2 separate regions of the Homo sapiens genome follow, and region 2 is linked to region 1. Evidence: promoter capture Hi-C in human tissues and cell types (Jung and others, 2019). All regions are on one chromosome and are shown on one strand. Each heading gives the region's core, a stretch centred on a gene start or on the middle of the fragment in contact. The rest is flanking DNA. Distances are from core to core; before and after follow the strand shown.

The links. Contacts are between HindIII fragments. The study calls those that stand out against the background at their distance.
Region 2: a fragment that was not itself captured here is called in contact with the fragment with the promoter of FUBP3 in region 1 in 1 of the 25 tissues and cell types used here (hippocampus).

Annotation. Positions count from the first base shown.
Region 1 is chr9:130,578,052-130,581,581 of GRCh38, reverse strand. It overlaps FUBP3 (far upstream element binding protein 3), which reads right to left and starts at 2,005. Exons shown (of 19, transcript NM_003934.2): 1 at 1,818-2,005. The coding sequence starts at 1,901. It overlaps LOC100272217 (a long non-coding RNA gene), which reads left to right and starts at 2,088. Exons shown (of 1, transcript NR_027440.1): 1 at 2,088-3,530. It overlaps LOC124902286 (a long non-coding RNA gene), which reads right to left and starts at 1,742. Exons shown (of 2, transcript XR_007061818.1): 1 at 1,334-1,742; 2 at 1-923. RefSeq lists a silencer at 1,688-2,057. The HindIII fragment of the contact is 10,079 bases long and covers 554-3,530 here.
Region 2 is chr9:132,070,612-132,074,141 of GRCh38, reverse strand. All of the region lies in intron 2 of MED27 (mediator complex subunit 27), which reads left to right. Among named protein-coding and RNA genes, the nearest start is that of MED27, 7.5 kb to the left of the region's middle. The HindIII fragment of the contact is 9,993 bases long and covers 1-3,530 here.

The DNA.
Region 1 (3,530 bases), core at 756-3,255:
AGATTTCTAACATTCCGTTCTTGCCCAATGCAAATCTATATACAATAAACCTAAAATTACCCACCAACCTGGTTTTTCTTTAGTTTTTAAAGGCCATCAAATCCTTGGAGATAGTATGGACCTCCAGCTGTTAACATTCAGAAGGAACACACTTACAGCCCTGTCTCCATTGGGCTTATTACTGCTCCAGTCAATGGTGCATTTCAGAGCTGAGAACAATTCCAATGAAGTTTTCACTGCTAGTAGTAAACACCACTGCTTCAACAATCCACATTAGGTCAGCATTTACCAGAGGGTCTCCCTCTGGAGCAGGTTGTCCAAGAATATGAGTTCAACCACTGGCTCAAGAGAAGCGGAATGTCTTCTCAATGGTTCAAAATTCACTTTATGTTCAACTACAGGCCTTCTGCAAACTGAGGATCTGAGCCCTTTAGGGCAGTGACTATAATTCTTCCCGGACATAGAAGGCCAACAAGGTGACTGTCACACATCAGCACAGAGCGAAAGCCATTACATATTAGTAGCCAGTGAGAAACAAGGTTCAGGACCCTGTACTGTAGAGGAGAGCACTGTAACACGCCAGCAAGCAGAGTGGTGGAAGGGGAGCTGGGTGGCATGTTCATCCATTACAGCCATGGGTGGATCTGAAGTCTAAGTAAGATGGATACTCACTACTGTACTGGTTGGCAGCTAGGCAGTAAAGTAACAATTCATCAGATAAAATTTTAGGTGGAACCACAGGTTTGGAAAGTTCTGGGATCCAATATAATGTCTATAGGAGCATCAATATATAACATGAAAAGTCAGTTATCAGGGAAACAGGTAGGGTTCCCTCCCCTGGAATACTGGAAAGAGATGTAAAGACCATATCTTCAAGCGCCCGAGTGAAGACCTTCTTCTAATACAATGACTCCTGTGGCTTTCTGTTAGGAATCAAGCAGTAATTAGTTATAGCCCAACTTTTAAAGTATCAGTGCGCTTACAATTACATAAGAAGAGAGGAGGACATAAGACACTTAACCGAGGAAGCTGAAGTGTTAGGGCTGACTTGTAAGTAAGTTTTAGATACAAATGAAGAACACGTTCTGTTCTAAGTACCATGCCAGAAGCCAGTAAGTATTTTTGGCAGGTCCCATATTCACTCTCTGGGGAAGCCTGGAGCCTTCTAAAACCCAGTTAATTTAACTTTGATTAAATGCACGACATTGTCAGACAGTAAAGTTTCAATGTCGGAATGAGGCCATATCATTCTCCCCAGTAGAGGCAAGCTTGCCATGAGAAATTTCTACATCTTGGGGACCACCCCCACACATGTAACACCTCCCTCTCTCACCTCTCCAAAGAGCACCCTCACATATAAGATGCCCTCGAGTTCCTTCTACTCAACAGAAAGTCTAAAGACGATGTTCCCCAAGTTTTAACAAGCTACTGGGCGTCAGACAGCTGCTTTATGTCTACACCCAGATCCTCCCCGTGGGCTTCCCGGACCCCTCCCCTCGCGAGGTTCAGAACCCCGCGCTAGCTACACTGTGGGTCCAGGCTGGCCGCTGGGGCACGATGGGGCCAGACGCTCTAAGCAAACCCTTTCCCAGCGACTTCAGGCACCTGGGAGACCCGCCCGACAGGCCGGGCCTGGGCCTCGCAGTGGCGCCTTATCCCCCCGGCTCCTCCCGGCTGTAGGAACTCCACGGAACGGCCCGGCCCGGCTGAGACGTCGGTTCAGGCTGCCTCCCGCCCCCCAGGCCCGAACCCCTCTTCCCCGCCCGCCAGGCCCCGCCTCGGGATCTCGTGCTCCTGCCAGCCGGCTGCGCCCGTACCTGCCGGACCCGGTGCAGGGCATCCACGAAGCCCTCGGCCTTCATCCCCACAGGAGCGCTCTGCCCCTGCACCAGCTCCGCCATTACCGCCCCCGCCGCCGTCGCCGCCGCCGCCGACGCCGCCGACGCCGCCGCTCGGCTCCCCGGTCCGGCCTCCCGCTCCGCTTGGGGACCCGTAGCCGGAAAAGGAAAGTCGCCCTACTTCCGGCGGAAGGGAAAGCCGGGACGCTCGCAGCTGGAGGAGTCGCGTCTGCGGGGCGGGGTCAGGGCACGTGACCTTCGACCGATCGGAAGTGGGGGCGGGACGGCAGCGCCGGGGTGGGCTCAGATCGCCAGGCAGCCGTGGGTCTCCAGGGTCCGGTCGCGACCCTTCCCTTCCCGGGCGGGATTTGGTCCAGGACCGTCGATGGCGTCTTGACAGGTCCCCGAGGCTTGGATGTGGTCCCGAGGTGTCCGCTGTCGGCCGTTTGGAATCTCAGAGGGACTGACGTGGCTCTCCCAAGACGGCACCCCGAACAGTCGTGGTTCATCAAAAGCCTGGTCCTGGGTAGCCCCTCCCTGAAATGGCTGTTGGTTGGGAATTTGGGGGCTGAGCGCTTTGAAAGGGCATTGGGACAGCATCACAGAATGTCAGTGTCCCACATTTGCGAGGAGTCCCGGGCCCCAGTTCTTACACTGCAGTTTGCATGAGGATGGGCCACCGCCACTTCCGCCTGGGGTTGTCTGGTGATGCCCCCAGGAGAGACGCGCCCACTGAAAAGCCAGCGTGGTGTCCTCTTACACGGTCCTTAACAAACTCTGGGACTCTGGGGGTGCAGGAAATACCACAGGACCGTCATTACTCCCATACCGGCTGAGTCACAACTGTATTGCAGGAGGCTTCTTGGAACGCCTATGTAACTTTAATGGAAGTGACCAGGTACAGATCTTCTACAGCAAGGAAGGAATCTTAGTGCTAGAATTCAGTTGAGCCTTTGAGTTGGCTCTTCTTATAAGTGAGCAAACAAGTAACAAGGTTTAGGGGGCGCCCATTTTTGTGTTAGCACGATTGCCCTCGTGTTTAATATTTCCCAAGCCCTATTATGATAAGGAGTTGGACTTAATGAAGAACCATGTTGTCAAACATCTTATGCCCATCTTGAAGTTGTGAAGGAGGATGAGCACCAAGAAAAGGAAATAAATAAAATCCAATACGGGCCGGGTGCGGTAGCTCACGCCTGTAATCTTAGCAGTTTGGGAGGCCAAGGCAGGCAGAACTCTTGAGCCCAGAAATTCAAGACCAGCCTAGGCAGCATAGTGAGACCCCGTCTCTACAAAAAATATAATTAGCTGGGCGTGGTGGCAAACACCTGTAGTCCCAGCTACTTGGGAGGCTGGAGTGGGAGGATCACCTGAGCCCTGGAGGTCAAGGCTGCAGTGAGCTATGATCACGCCACTGCAGTACAGCGTGGGTGACAGAGCAAGACCCTTTCTTGGGGAAAAAAGTCCCATATAACTTTCCTTGATGACCCCACCCTCACCCCTCACTGTGTCATTATGCCAAGAGAGCTTTGGGCATTCTAAAGAAGTATGAGGAATACTTGACCAATAACCAAAGTATAGTTATTTATTTGTTAATGACTTCTTTCCTAGACTGTGAGTTACTTTAGAGCAGAGACTTATTTTTCCCTGTATCCCTAGGGTGTGGCACATAGTAGGTGCTTAGTAAACTTA
Region 2 (3,530 bases), core at 548-3,047, 1.5 Mb before region 1:
TGAGAAGGATGACAAGCTTTCTTGACTAGGGCAAAAAATAATTGGCATCAACGCTGTCCTTGCTATAAAATAGTCAATGTAGACTTGATAGTGCTTATTATGTTCAGAGATGCTGAGAGTTAACCTGAACTTATTCTGAAGGTCCTCTTTTGAAGGTTTCTGGCATCCTGTCACCAGGCTTTTATTTCTGGCTTTGATTTTTTTCATTTGTTTATGGCAGAAGGCTACTTGTATATTTGCCTGGAAAAGCAGACTAAGACGTCCGCCTTTCCCTGGCAACATCTGAAGCTGCAAAGACCCCAGAAGTGTCACTTTTTACTGGGCTTGGGAAATGGGCCCAGAGCGAGGTGCTGCTGCTACCTTTTTTTTTTTTCACGTTTGATTTTTTTTTTATTACAGAAAGAGCAACTTTCTATTCCAAGAATATTCCATTGGAAAGTCTGAAGACATTTCCTCCCTCCTGCCCTCCTGAACTGTTCTTATTAGAATCCAGTTGCTTAATGACTAAGTTACTGCAAAGTTCACCTCTCACATCTATCTCTGAAGGTGCTCTTTTCTGTTTTTGCATCATGGAACTAACAGGGTTGGAATCGTTTTACATTGCAACGCAGAGCCTTTCCTTTAGGGACTCTGTCCTCTATTAAGGGTAAACTATAAGGCTCAGGGGAGAGGCACCATGTCCATCTTGTTCCTTGCTGGGAGTCCCCAGCAACTAGCAAGGCGCCTGGTACACTGTAATCATTCAGTGAAGATTCACTGAGAGAATGAAAGAATAAATGAATCGAAGCGTTTTCTGTTGAATTTTTAATTTACAACCCCTTTCGTGGTTTGCTTGCTTGTATTTTTGATGAAGTACAGTGAGGGCATTTCCATTTTCAGCCATTACTGAGAAAGCCAGTTGTGGTGCTTGGATGGGAGGCAATTTGGAGACCTTATGATGGAGGCCAGGGCTGGGGGTCATTTGGAAGGCCAAGGTGAGGTCATTGGGTGAACCAATGATAAGCTCTTTGAAGGCTGATTGTAGCAGTTTTATCCACATCATCTGTCACCTGGTGTGCCCTTCTAATGGGACTTGGTGGAAGTTTTTTGGAGTTGCCTGAGTCAGGCTAATTTGAGCTGCTGCACCTGATGTCAGGTGTTCTGTGGCGGCTGTCATTTTGGCAGCAGTGTGAAAACTGTCTGGGAAGAGGAGAGTCAATTCCACCAGCCTCTTAGGGTTATCCTACTTTGTGAGTTACGTATAACCGATTTCTACTTGTGTTTTCCTTCCCACCAGGCCCACCCCTGACTCATTCTTCTCTCCATATAGCTGCTACATGTTCAGGGAATACAGATTCCTTCAGAATATAATAGGAGAGAAAATCACTTAAATGCCCCTCACAATTTAATCATCATGACTTTAGGATTGAGCACCCTTCTGAATTGTCCTTTTATTGGCAAAGGTGTTCTTTCACCTAAATCTAACCTTCGTAGCACCCCATCACTCAAAATGAACTTGCTAGCGTAGTGAGTTTGGCTGTAGTATAGACTGCCCTGGTTAGCCTTGAACCCTACACCCTCCTCCTCCCTCCCCACCTGCAAACCCTGGATACCGTGGGAGCCATTGTGAAAAGAACAGCCAACCAGAGAAAACAATGAAATACAGCCAGTCTCCTGGACAGCAAGATACATGGCAGGATTCAGAAGTCAAGGAAGGTATAACAAAAATATAAAAACTTAGATGTAAGTTCTGGAGTCAAGACTACCTGAGTTCTGATCCAGCTCTGCTTATGCTTGAGCTCACAACCCTTGATACAAGGGAAAAAAATCTTTTTGAGTATCAGTTTCCTCATCTGTAGAATGGGGATAATACTAGTATTTGGATCATAGGGTTGAAGCGAAGATTGAGATAATGCACATCAAATGTCTTAGGGTAACTCACACATAGTAAGTGCTAAGTAAATGGTAGTTATAATGACCAGGCATCGTGATAGTACACATGTGTGTACTCATTTATGGAACGTGTGTTACTTGTACGCATGTGTACTCATGGAGTGCGTGTTACTCATATGCATGTGTACTTATTTATGGGGTGTGTGTTACGCAAGTGCCTGTGTGCTCGTTCACGGGGTGCGTGTTGCGCATACACGTGTGTGCTCATTTATGAGGCGTGCGTTACTTCTGTGCCTGTGTACTCATGGATTGCATGTTACTCATATGCCTCTGTACTCATTTATGGGGTGTGTGTTACTCATATGCTTGTGTGCTCATCCATGGGGCGCGTGTTATGCGTGTGTGTGTGTGTGCTTGTTCATGGGGTGTGTGTATGTGTGTACTCACTTATGGGGCGTGCATTACTCGTATGCATGTGTGCTCGTTCATGGACGTGTGTTACTCGTATGCATGTGTGCTCGTTCATGGACGTGCATTACTCGTATGCATATGTGCTTGTTCATGGACGCGTGTTACTCGTATACACGTGTGCTCATTCATGGGGCACGGGTTACTCATGCGTGTGTTCGTTCATGAGGTGTGGGTTACTTGTATGCATGTGCTCGTTCATGGGGCACAGGTTCATGGGATACGGGTTACTTGTGTGTTTGGTGTGCTCGTTCATGGGGTGTGTGTTACTCGCATGTGTGTGTGCTCATGGAGTGAGTGTTACTCGTACGTGTATGGACTTATTTGTGGGGTGTGTGTTACTCGTGTGTGTGCTCATTTATGAGGCACCTGTTATTCATGTGTGTGTGTGCTCGTTCATGGGGTGTGCGTTACTCGTGTGTGTGCTCATTTATGGGGTGCATGTTACACGTATGTGTGTGTGCTCATTCATGGGACGCCTGTTTCTCGTGTGTGTGCTCGTTCATCAAGTGGCAGTGTTGCTCGGTGGTTCAGAGCGTAGGCTCCAGAGCCTGACCACTCTGGCTCACATGCTGTGTTACCTGACAGCTGTGAGGCTAACCTCTCTGTGCTTCAGTGCTGTATTCTCTAAGATGGGAATGATAATTGTACCCACCTCAGAAAGGTGTTATGAGGACAAAATGAGGTGATACAAGTAAAGCACTTAAGCTAGCACAGAGTCAGTACTCTCCAGTGGCTGCTATTATTGTCTTAAGACGATGCTGAGGACAGGTTCCAGGCAGTGGTGGCCCATCTTCCAGTGGCTTCTGCTCCCTCACCAGGCCTCCCACACCTGACTTTGCTATTCTCCTGAAGTTCTTCACATTGGAGATTCTGTTGAATAATCAGCACCTTTTCCAGTGAGACAGCAATTCACACATTAATATGAATTAGTGTGTGGGGGGCAGTTCTTTCCTCACAGAACCTGGGGGTGGAGGTAAGGGACTGGGGGTTTGGTGGGGGGTGTGGGAGTCGAGGGGCAAAGGCAGGGCGAGGATCCTGGGGACAAACCACAGGAGTGGTGAGAGGACCATGGAGAGGAGGTGAGAAGGGCATATTCTGCCCCAGGCAGATATTTGTGCACACCAAAGGGGACTCTTCTCATCTTGGTACTCAGTAAGAGCTAGGAAATCAGATCTGTTTTATAGTCC